Regions from separate parts of the Homo sapiens genome. Here region 2 is linked to region 1. Evidence: promoter capture Hi-C in 16 types of primary human blood cells and fetal thymus (Javierre and others, 2016). All regions are on one chromosome and are shown on one strand. The core of a region is centred on a gene start or on the middle of the fragment in contact, and the rest is flanking DNA. Distances in the headings are between cores, read along the strand shown.

Evidence for each region. Contacts are between HindIII fragments. The CHiCAGO score rates a contact against its expected background, and 5 or more counts as called.
Region 2: a fragment that was not itself captured here is called in contact with the fragment with the promoter of IRGC in region 1 in 1 of 17 cell types (naive CD8 T cells); the score reaches 6.5 in naive CD8 T cells.

Annotation. Positions count from the first base shown.
Region 1 is chr19:43,713,821-43,719,631 of GRCh38, forward strand. IRGC (immunity related GTPase cinema) reads left to right here and starts at 2,256. Exons shown (of 2, transcript NM_019612.4): 1 at 2,256-2,322; 2 at 4,673-5,811. The coding sequence starts at 4,739. RefSeq lists an enhancer at 2,229-2,729. The HindIII fragment of the contact is 15,065 bases long and covers 1-5,811 here.
Region 2 is chr19:37,995,317-38,001,127 of GRCh38, forward strand. All of the region lies in intron 1 of SIPA1L3 (signal induced proliferation associated 1 like 3), which reads left to right. Among named protein-coding and RNA genes, the nearest start is that of SIPA1L3, 91 kb to the left of the region's middle. RefSeq lists an enhancer at 3,667-4,866. The HindIII fragment of the contact is 3,213 bases long and covers 1,322-4,534 here.

The sequences.
Region 1 (5,811 bases), core at 1,006-3,505:
GCAGCAGAATGAATGAGGTTCCTGAATGGAGTCAGTGGGTTTCGGGGTTTCTGTATATGTTGTCAGTGTGTAACTGTGTCTCTTAAAGTCTGCACATCTGTGTCCCGGAATGTGTGTGTTTGCGAGGCTTTGGTAAGTGTGTGTTTGTCTGAGTCTTGCTTTCCTTCAGTGACTCTGTTGTTTTGTTTCGTTTAGAGACAGAATCTTGCTCAGTCACCCAGGCTGGAGTGCAGTAGCATGATCACGGCTCACTGCAGCCTTGAACTCCTGGGCTCAAGCAATCCTCCCACCTCAGCCTCCTGAGTAGCTGGGACTACAGATGTGCACCATCATACCTGGCTCATTTTTTTTTTTTTTTTAAGAGATAGGGTCTTGGCCAGGCACGGTGGCTCACGCCTGTAATCCCAGCACTTTGGGAGTCCGAGGTGGGCGGATCACGAGGTCAGGAGATCGAGACCATCCTGGCTAACACGGTGAAACCCCGTCTCTACTAAAAAATACAAAAAAATTTAGCCAGGCGCGGTGGCAGGCGCCTGTAGTCCCAGCTACTCGGGAGGCTGAGGCAGGAGAATGGCAGGAACCCGGGAGGCGGAGCTTGCAGTGAGCCGAGATTGCACCACTGCACTCCAGCGTGGGAGACAGAGCGAGACTCCGTCTCAAAAAAAAAAAAAAAAAAAAGAGATAGGGTCTTGCTATGTTGCCCAGGCTGGTCTCAACCTCCTGGGCTCAAGCAAACCTCCTACCTCGGCCTCCCAAATTGCTGAGATTACAGGCGTGAGTGAGCCGCCATGCCCAGCCACGAAGTAACTCTGTATTTGAGGCTCTTTCTGTGTCTTTCCCTTCTCTCTTGGGCCAGGGGTGCGTGTCCATGCATTTTGGGAAGGAGTCCTTGCTGTCTGCTGGTCTGTGTGCTCGGTGTCCGGGGAAGTCTGAGAACCATGTTGTTCACTCTCTTCAGCTCTGTGTGTTTGTGTCAGTCAGTGAGAGCATGAGTGAGTCGTGTGTCTTTTGCCCTGCACCTCCCTTTCACCTGTGGCTTAAGAACTCTGTACTATGCGGCCAACAGCCCACTCTTCCCCAGCTCTCAGGGTGGCTCTGAGCTAGTCTATTCCCCTTCTGGGCCTCTCTCTCCTTAGTTGTTCTCAGAGGCTCCTTTCCAGAACTGGCCTGCAGATGGTCAGGAAAATCCTCTGAGTAGCGTTATTGTAAATTCCCTACAAGAGGAGAATGGAGAAGGCCCTGTGGAGCCTGGCCTGGGCAGAGAGGAAGCCCGGAGGGGAGACAGGACAGAGACACTTATAAAGGACAAGAAGGGGCCGGGTGTAGTGGCTACACCTGTAATCTTAGCGCTTTGGGAGGCGGCATAACCTGAGGTCAGGAGGTTTGGGAGGCGAGGCAGGCGGATAACCTGAGGTCAGGAGTTCAAGACCAGCCTAGGCAACATGGTGAAACCCCACCTCTACTAAAAAAAAAAAAAAAAAAAAAAAATTAGCCAAGCCTGGTGGTGCATGCTAGTAGTCCCAGCTACTCAGGAGGCTGAAGCAGGAGAATCACTTGAACCCAGGAGGCGGAGGTTGCAGTGAGCCAAGATTGTGTCACTGCACTCCAGCCTGGGTGACAGAGCAAGACACTGTTTCAAAAAAAGAAAAAAAAGAAATCAATGACTAAATTATTGGGCTTACAAGATAGCAGATCAGCCTCCCGAGTAGCTGGGACTACATGCATGCACCACATCTGGCTAATTTTTGTATTTTTAGTAGAGATGGAGTTTCACCACATTGCCCAGGCTGATCTCAAACTCCTGGCCTCAAGTGATGCACTCGCCTCGGCCTCCCAAAGTGCTGGCATTACAGGCGTGAGCCACTGTGCCCACCAGCAATGACCGAATTTGTATCATCAACTTTCACACTTCTCTGGGGAACTGACAGTCCCCTGGGTGGAGGGTGGAGTGGTAGCAGGGCCAAGCCCTTGGAAACCAATCTGTGAATCTGAGACTTTGTCCTTGGGGGGTGATGGAGACCATGGAGGATTTTGAACAGGTCTTGGTGTTAGAAAGATCTCTCTGGAGTCTTCAGGGGAACTGGAGGGCCCAGTGTGAGTGGGTGGTGACCCCATGAGCAGCTGGGGCTTGGGGTCCCTGCTCCACCTCCGGGCCCCACCCCCTGACATCACTGTCGCATTATTGCACCAGGTCTGGCTGACCAATAAGCTGCTGCTTGCTATGATAATGGGTCCTAGCAACGGTGTCTGACCTTGGCTAAGAGGGAAGGAGATCCTATCAGTGGGGAGAGTGTGAGGGGAGAGGGAGAGCCTGCAGGGCAGGTGAGTCCCCCAGGGCTCTCTCGCTGGGCCCCTGTGCGTGGGCGGAGCAGGAGCTTATGGTCTAATCCGGACCCCCTCAGCCCAAATTCCAACCACTGACTTGTCTGCCCCTTGCTGCCAGGACCTGTTCCAGGTTCCTACTCTTCCCACCGCAGACCATACTAGGGAGAGGGCACACCCAGGATAGGAGGCTCAGATCTGGAGGCAACAATGTCTTTTTTTTTTCCTTTTTTTTTTTCTGAGACGGAGTCTCGCTCTGTCGCCCAGGCTGGAGTGCAGTGGTGCAATCTTGGCTCACTGCAACCTCCGCCTCCTGGGTTCAAGAGCTGGGACTACAGGCATGCGCCACAACACCTGGCTAATTTTTGTATTTTTAGTGGAGATGGAGTTTCACCATGTTGGCCAGGCTGGTCTCGAACTCCTGACCTCAAGTGATCCACCCACCTCGGCCTCCCAAAGTGCTAGGATTACAGGCGTGAGCCACCATGCCCAGCCGGGAACAATGTCTTAAGGACATATTTCTGTGGGGGGTGGAGTGGGGTAGCAGAGGATGGGGTGAGTGGTAGGAGGTGAAGAGACGGGGTGCAGGGGGCAAGGAGACAATGCAGGAGGCAGGGACATGCAGCTGAAGGGAGAGTAGCTCTCTAGGTGGGTGAAGGAGCCTGGGGACCTGGGTTGGGGTCCTGGCTATGCCTCTGGATGAGGAGACCTCATTTGTCTTGTCTGAGCCTCAGTCCTTCTCCCTGTCAAATGGGGACAGTGATCCCAGACATGAGCAGCTCTCCCAGGGCACCCTGAAGACCCTTAGTGAGTAAATGTATTTTAGAGATGATGGGCCAGAGGAGGGTGAGTGGGAAGAGGGAGGACCAGGGAAGCTCCTGGTGAGGAGGAGGGATCTGAGGGGGGACCATCACGACAGGAGCTCTGGGCGGTGGGAGGGGAACTGAACCCCGGGAGGCAAGGGCTGCCATGGCAGGGGTGGGGTTTCATGGAAATGACTCCTGGTGTCCAGGTGGTCCCCATGTCTGGCTTCCCGAACCCAAGGGCGTCTGAACCCAAAGTCAGCCTAGGGCTAGCTGAACGGGGTTTGTGGGCATCACAGCAGCCCTGCGAGGTGGGGAGGAGTATCCCCCACGGGGCAGCTGAGGCTCAGACAGGGCGAGGACTTGCTCAAAGTCACACAGCTAAGAATATTACTAATGATAAGAATAATGACGATGATGGTGATGCCAATGACACGAGGCACCTGCCCTGAGCCAGGCGCCGTTTTATGGGCTGCTTTATGTCATAACTCATTCAAGTCACAGAGATCCTAGGAGGTGGTTTGCCAGGATTGTAGGTATCATTCTCAGTGTTCAGATGAGGAGAGTGAGGAGAGAGTTAAGTAACTTGCCTCACATCACTCAGTAAGTATGTGGTGGAGCCAGGATTTGATCCCAGGCAGTCTGGCTCCGGGTCTGGGTCCCCTCCACCCTACCCTCCAATCCCAGCCACCGCAGGAGTGCAGCTGTTTCCTCTGAATGGGCCTGTACCACCCTTTCCTATGCAGCCCTGGCTATGTAATTTGCCCTGGCTATATAATTTGCAAGGCCCAGTACGAAATGAAAATATGGGGCCCCTGGTTCAAATATTATAAAGAATTTCAGGCCAGGCATAGTGGCTCATGCCCTTAATCCCAGCGCTCTGGGAAGCTGAGGCAGGAGGACCTTGATCTCGGAAGTTCAAGACCAGCTGGGACAACATAGTGAGACTCCCATCTCTACAAAAAATTTAAAAAGTAGCTGGGCATGGTGGCATGCGCCTGTGGTCCCAGCTGTTCAGGAGGCTGAGGTGGGAGGATTGCTAGAGCCAAGGAGATCAAGGCTGCAATGAGCCATGATCGTAGCACTGTGCTCCAGCCTCGATGACAGAGAGACCCTGTCTCAAACAAACAAACAAACAAACAAACAATTTCAGCTAGTGTCAGCAGAGCATTAAACCAAGCACTGGGCCATTCTAAGCACAGAACCCTCCAGGGCACACATACACCCAGAAAACTGACCTGTGCCTAGGTTACCCTGGAGACTCCAATAGTGCTCCAAGAGGCTGCTTGGTGGTCATGCCCATTACCCAGAGAGGTGCTTCATTTTGCCCCTGGTCACACAGCAAGTTAGTGGCAGAAAAGGGATGTGAACCTGGGCCTGCCAGACCCCAAAGCCCTCTAACTTGTGCCAAAAATGTGTCCCCAATTCTTGAAGGAAAAAGAGAGCTGTGGGCTTCCAGGGCGACTCCCTTCACATCCGTGGTATCTGTCTCTCCCTGCCCCATGCCAAGGCCCAGGAGGTGTGAATGGCTCCCTTCTCCTCTGCAGGCGCTGAGGATCACGCATCCTGTGACTCTCCCCTGTCCCCCGCCACCCTCTGAACCACTGGCCACCATGGCTACTTCAAAGTTGCCCGTGGTGCCTGGGGAGGAGGAAAACACCATCCTTATGGCCAAGGAAAGGCTGGAGGCCCTGCGCACAGCCTTTGAGTCGGGTGACCTCCCCCAGGCCGCCTCTCACCTCCAGGAGCTGCTGGCCTCCACGGAAAGCATCCGCCTGGAGGTGGGCGTCACGGGCGAGTCGGGCGCGGGCAAGTCCTCCCTCATCAATGCCCTGCGTGGCCTGGAGGCCGAGGACCCTGGCGCGGCTCTCACGGGCGTCATGGAGACCACGATGCAACCGTCGCCCTATCCACACCCACAGTTCCCTGACGTGACCCTCTGGGACCTGCCAGGAGCCGGCTCTCCAGGCTGCCCGGCTGACAAGTACCTAAAGCAGGTAGACTTCAGCCGCTATGACTTCTTCCTGCTGGTCTCCCCCCGCCGCTGCGGGGCCGTCGAGACCCGCCTGGCCGCTGAGATCCTGTGCCAGGGCAAGAAGTTCTACTTTGTGCGCACCAAGGTGGACGAGGACCTGGCGGCCACGCGCACCCAGCGGCCGTCGGGCTTCAGAGAGGCCGCTGTCCTGCAGGAGATCCGAGACCACTGTGCCGAGCGGCTGCGGGAGGCCGGCGTGGCTGACCCTCGCATCTTCCTGGTGTCCAACCTCTCGCCGGCCCGCTACGACTTTCCCACGCTGGTGTCCACCTGGGAGCACGACCTGCCCTCCCACCGGCGCCACGCTGGCCTGCTGTCGCTCCCCGACATCTCGCTGGAGGCCTTGCAGAAGAAGAAGGCCATGCTTCAAGAGCAAGTCCTCAAGACCGCCCTGGTGTTGGGCGTCATCCAGGCCCTGCCGGTCCCAGGGCTGGCGGCCGCCTACGATGATGCGTTGCTCATCCACTCACTGCGTGGCTACCACCGCAGCTTTGGTCTGGACGACGACTCGCTGGCCAAGCTGGCCGAGCAGGTGGGCAAACAGGCAGGTGACCTGCGCTCGGTCATCCGCTCCCCACTGGCCAACGAGGTCTCGCCTGAGACTGTCCTGCGGCTCTATTCCCAGTCGTCCGACGGCGCCATGCGGGTGGC
Region 2 (5,811 bases), core at 1,678-4,177, 5.7 Mb before region 1:
CTTGCTATAGATGAGAGAAATCAAGGATCAGAGAGGTGAGAGAATGGCTTGCTTGGCATCTCATACAGCGTGGAGGGACAGAGCAGGGATCTGAAGCCATGTATTCCCACAGAGCCTGCAGTTTTAACCCCTGTGCAGTGCTACCTTCCTGAGGGGGACACCCAGCCGGCCATAATGCAGCGTGGTGAGTAGATGAGCTGCAAGTGCGGGGGAACACAGGAAAGAGAAACTCGGCTTGGGCACCATCAGGGAGAACTGTGAAGAGGGGTGGTTGGGCTGGCCTTCGAAAGGTTAGTAGGAGTTCTGCCAGATACACAGGAAAATGGCCTGAGGAGGTGGGGCCTGGGCAGAGGGCACAGAATGAACAAAAGCGGGTTGGGACAGTGTATGCTGGGTGGGTTAAGGAAGCCTCTTTGGGTTGAAAGGTGAATTTGTCTTATGTCACTGGGAAGTCTGTAGGAGGGGAGCTTCAGATGCAGCCCGAGTATGGGGCCCACACGTGCCATTGGGGCTCTCCTTGGCTTCGCTCTGCCAGCAGGCTGGAGTCGGGCAGATCCTCCTGGTTTATCAACTCAGTGGAAAGAGGATTTAGAGTCTTCAGTGGTTTGTTTTGTTCCGAGACAGGGTCTAGGTCTGTCACCCAGGCTGGGGTGAAGGGCATGATCATAGTTCACTGTAACCTTGAACTCCTGGCCTCAAGCAGTCTTCCCACCTCAGCCTCCAAATAGCTAGGAGTACAGGCATGCACCACCACACCTGGCTGATTTTTAAATTTTTGGGGGATGTGTGTGTGTAGAGATGGGGTCTCACTACATTGCCAGGGCTGGTCTCAAACTCCTGGCCTCAAGTGATCCTCCTGCCTTGGCCAACCAAAGTGTTGGGATTATAGGCGTGAGCCAGCACACCCAGCCAGTATTTATTTACTTAGAGACAGGGTCTTGCTCTGTTACCCAGGCTGGAGTGTAGTGGTTCAATCAGAGCTCACTGCAGCCTCGACCTCCTGGACACAAATGATCCTTCCTCCTCAGCCTCCCGAGTATCTGGATTTACAGGCGGGAGCCCAGCCTTTATTGTTTTTAATTGATAAGTAAACATCACATATATTTATGGTATACAACATGCTGTTTTGGTATGTGTGTACATTGTAGAATGGCTAAGTCAAGCCATTTAACATAATGCATTACCTCACTTGCTTTTTTTGTAGTGAGAACACTTAAAGTCTACTCTCTCAGCCATTTTGAAGTATGCCATGTATTGTTAGTAATTGTTGCTACCATGATGTACAGTAGCTCTCTTGAACTTATTTCTCTTGTCCAACTGAAGCTTTGTGTCCTTTGACCAACATCTCCACAATCCTCCACTGCCATCCTCTGTATTTTATTTTATTTTATTTTTTTGAGACAGAGTCTCACTCTGTTGCCTAGGCTGTAGTGCAGTGGTGCCATCTCAGCTCGCTACACCCTCCACCTTCTGGGTTCAAGCAATTCTCCCTGCCTTAACCTCCCAAGTAGCTGGGATTACAGGCACCCACTACGACGCCCAGCTAATTTTTGTATTTTTAGTAGAGACGGGGTTTCACCATGTTGGCCAGGCTGGTCTCGAACTCCTGACCTCAGGTGATCCACCCGTCTCAGCCTCCCAAAGTGCTGCGATTACAGGCGTGAGCCACCGTGCCCGGCCAATCCTCAGTGTTTTTATACTAGCCCCAGGGAATATTCCATTTGGGTTGTATGCCTATCCAAGAAGGTGGTATTTGGGAGTGGGTGGGGGAAGATGAGGTAGAGATGCTAGATACACAACATAATATCCACAAGTACATGTGCAACTTTTAATAGATACCTTCGTCTTCTGTACTTTAGTTTCCTTGTCTGAAAAGTGGGACTAATACAATCTTCCCTGCCTCATACATAGGGTTTGGGAAGATTCCACATGGTAGGCATTCACCAGTACAGTTAGAGAATGTTCTTTGGGCCGGGCACGGTGGCTCACATCTATAATCCCAGCACTTTGGGAGGCTGAAGCAGGCGGATCACTTGAGGTCAGGAGTTCGAGACCAGCCTGGCCAACATGGTGACACCCGATCTCTACTAAAAATACAAAAATTAGCCAGGCGTGGTAGCATATGCCTGTAGTCTCAGCTACTCGGGAGGCTGAGGCACGAGAATCACTTGAACCCAGGAGATGGAGGTTGCAGTGAGCTGAGATTGTGCCACTGCACTCCAGCCTGGGCAACAGAGTGAGACTGTCTCATTAAAAAAAAAAAAAAAAAAGGCCGGGCACGTTGGCTCATGCCTGTAATCCCAGCACTTCGGGAGGCCGAGGCAGGTGGATCACGAGGTCAAGAGATCGAGACCATCCTGGCCAACATGGTGAAACCCCGTCTCTACTAAAAATACAAAAATTATCTGGGCGCAGTGGTGCGCTCCTGTAGTCCAGCTACTCCGGAGGCTGAGGCGGGAGAATCGCTTGAACCTGGGAGGCAGAGGTTGCAGTGAGTTGAGATTGTGCCACTTCACTCCAGCCTGACGACAGAGCGAGACTCCATCTCAAAAAAAAAAAAAAAAAGAAAAGAAAAAGAGAGAGAGAGAGTGCTCTTTGGAACCTAGAGCACTGGTCTCCCAATTGGTAGAAGGCCCCAAATGGCACCTTGCCAGGACCTGGTGTTGCCATTTAAACTTGGGCTGCTTGGATTCAAATCCCAGCCCCAGCTGGTAAGAGCTAGATAACCTTGGGCAAGTAGCTTTACCTCTCTGTGCCTTAGTTTCCACATCTGTACCAGAGAGAAGAATGCTTAGGGCACTGCCAGGCACATGGTAGACATCAGTAAATATTCTTTTGATGAGTGCATGAATGGAAAATCTGAGTCAGAAGCGACTCACGGCTTGTTAAACCTTTTTGGATTTGTATCGCCTAGAGTCCCTCCAGAAAAGCATTACTCTGTTACTGCAGGCTGAGATGACCCATTTCCCTGTTCCTCAGCCAGCCCTGTGTCTTATCTTCTAGGAAAGAATTCATAGTAATTTTTTCCAGGAGTATGTGGTAGGACATAGTAATTTTGATTGGTAATGGAACCAGCCTAATATTATGGACATGTAAGAAAATGTCCATGTTTTTCAGAGCTGCAAACCGAAACGCATAAAGTTGAAATGACATGATATCCGGCATTTGCTTTAAAATACTTCAGGCCGGGTGTGGTGCCACACATGTGTATTCCCGGCACTTTGGGAGACCAAGGTGGGAGGATTGCTTGAGCTCAGGAGTTGGAGATCAGCCTGCGCAACATAGCAAGACCTCATCTCTACTAAAAGTAAAAATAAATTAATTAACCAGACATGGTGGGATATGCCTGTGGTCCTAGCTACTCAGGAGGCTGAGGCAGGAGGATCACTTGAGCCTGGGAGGTTGAGGCTGCAGTGAGCCAAGATCACACCACTGTAGCAGCCTGGAAGACAGAGTGAGACCCTGTCCAAAAGTAAATAAATACAATAAAATACTTTGGTAAGAAGGAAAAGGGGGGAAAAGGAAGAAATAAAGAATAGATGAAGCTAATATGGCAGAATCTTGACAATTTTTGAATCTAGGTTTGGGTACAAGGGAGTTCATTGTACCTTACTCCCTACTTTTTTTTAGCATGTTAACAGAACAAAAACCAGCCCTATCTATCACACACACACACACACACACACACACACACACCCACACACACACAAAGACTAAAAATTGTGTGACCATGAAAAGCACTGCGATCCTGCTGCCCACAGACAGTTGGGAAGGTCCTGAGCCAGGGTGGCGATGGGTAAATGACCACCTTGCAGTTCTTCGTTCATCCCCTTTGTGAGGAGACCTTTTCTGGTTCAGCAACTGGACAGATAGTGGATTTCAGGCCAAAGCATCAATTTCTCATCTCTTTCCTGCTGAGGAGGAGGAGACCAAACCCCCCAGTGACTGACTCCTGGGATCCCTTTCACTGCTGGGCCTGGTTTTACCATGGGGTGGAGGGAGCCACAAGCTGCTCTTCTCCAGGGACCTGTGTGATGACGGCAAAAACGTAACTGGCCAATCTTCCACAATGACTAAATATTAACTCCAGCCCCGCTCCTGGACGCACATGAGCAGTCTTGCCCATCCTTGTTAAACAGGCAACCGCCCCAGCCTTCTCTCTAGTTGCACATGGAAGTGAGTGGTGGGCTGGGTTTTCCAGCGCTGAACGTGCTCTTCATTCCGCTGCCTGTGGACGTTAGGGAGGGGCTTCCGCAGTCCATCTGGCACTGGGTGGGTCTCAGTCCGGGCGGGCGATCCACCCAGGAACTGACCCCTGGTTGCTCCAGAAAGGTCATCGTTTAAGAATGTTTCTTGGGTAGCCCAGTGGGAGACCCACGTGTGCGTGTGGTCAGCTGTAGCTTCCGGCTGTCTCACTTCTGCTGAATTCCAGCAATTTCTCATTTCCTTTAGGAAACAGGATGAGTCTGGAGAGGAGTATGAAAAATCATGACAAACCTGGCGATAGGGACACTGGGAACCTAGCCCTGAATGAAGCTTATAGTTGGTCATGATTGCCAGGGTCTTGAACAGTGTGGACCAGGGGAAAGAAGGTACCTGGGGCCAGATGCCCTGGATTCAAATCCCACCACCCCCACTAACACTTGTGACCTTGAGAAAGTTGCGTAACCTCTCTGTGCCTCAGTTTGCTCATTTGTAAAATGATGATAGTACCTGCCTCGTAGGATTTAAGGATTAAATTAGATACTGTTTTTTAAGTGTTTGAAACTGCCTCTTCTGTAGTAGTTCCTCAATTAATAGTGGCTATGACAGTATTATCATATCCTGTTGTAATGGGCATGCACAGTTAGGATTAAGAACCTTTGGTCAGCTAGGTGTGGTGGCTCACACCTGTAATCCCAGCACTTTGGGAGGCCGAGACGGGTGGATCACCTGAGGTCAGGAGTTTGACACCAGCCTGGCCAACATGGTGAAACCCTGTCTCTACTAAAAATTAAAAAAATTAGCTGGGCGTGGTGGTGGGTGCCTATAATCCCAGCTACTCTGGAGGCTGAGGCAGGAGAATCGCTTGAACCCAGGAGGCGGAGGTTTCAGTGAGCCTAGATCACGCTACTGCATTCCAGCCTGGGCAACAGAGTGCACAGAGTGAGACTCTGTCTCAAAAAAAAAAAAAAAAAAAAAAGAACCTCGGTTTATAAATAGTGGTTCAGATGGAAGCAGAAATTAGAGGAGAGGAAGAGGGAAGCACTTTTCTCCCCAGCAGTCCATGGTTTGAGGAAATAGGCTTAATTTCATCGTTGAAAAATGTTATTTTTCACTCGATGTTCAAAATCTCCTAGGAAAGCAGGGGCAAAAGACTTTTTTTTTTTTTTTCCTCCTCATGCTTGGTCATGCAAAAGACTTTAAAGAGAGAAAATGTCTCTTCCCCACTTCTCTATATACATGCTGGGAAAAAAAAGACTGGAAGGAAATGAACCAATGTCTTAACAGTGGTTGCCCTTTGGTGGGGAGAGAATGAGTAACTCTATAATCTTCTTTGTACATTTATGTTCCAAGTTTTTTATATATATATATATGTTATATATATATATATAACATATATATAACATATATATAACATATATAACATATAACACACATATAACACATATATAACATATATAACACACATATATATAACACATCAATCATATACACATATATATCACACACATATATCACACATATATCACACATATATATATATCACATATATATCACATATATATATACTACTTTCATAAACAGGAAAAATGTTAAAAAGTTAAGGAA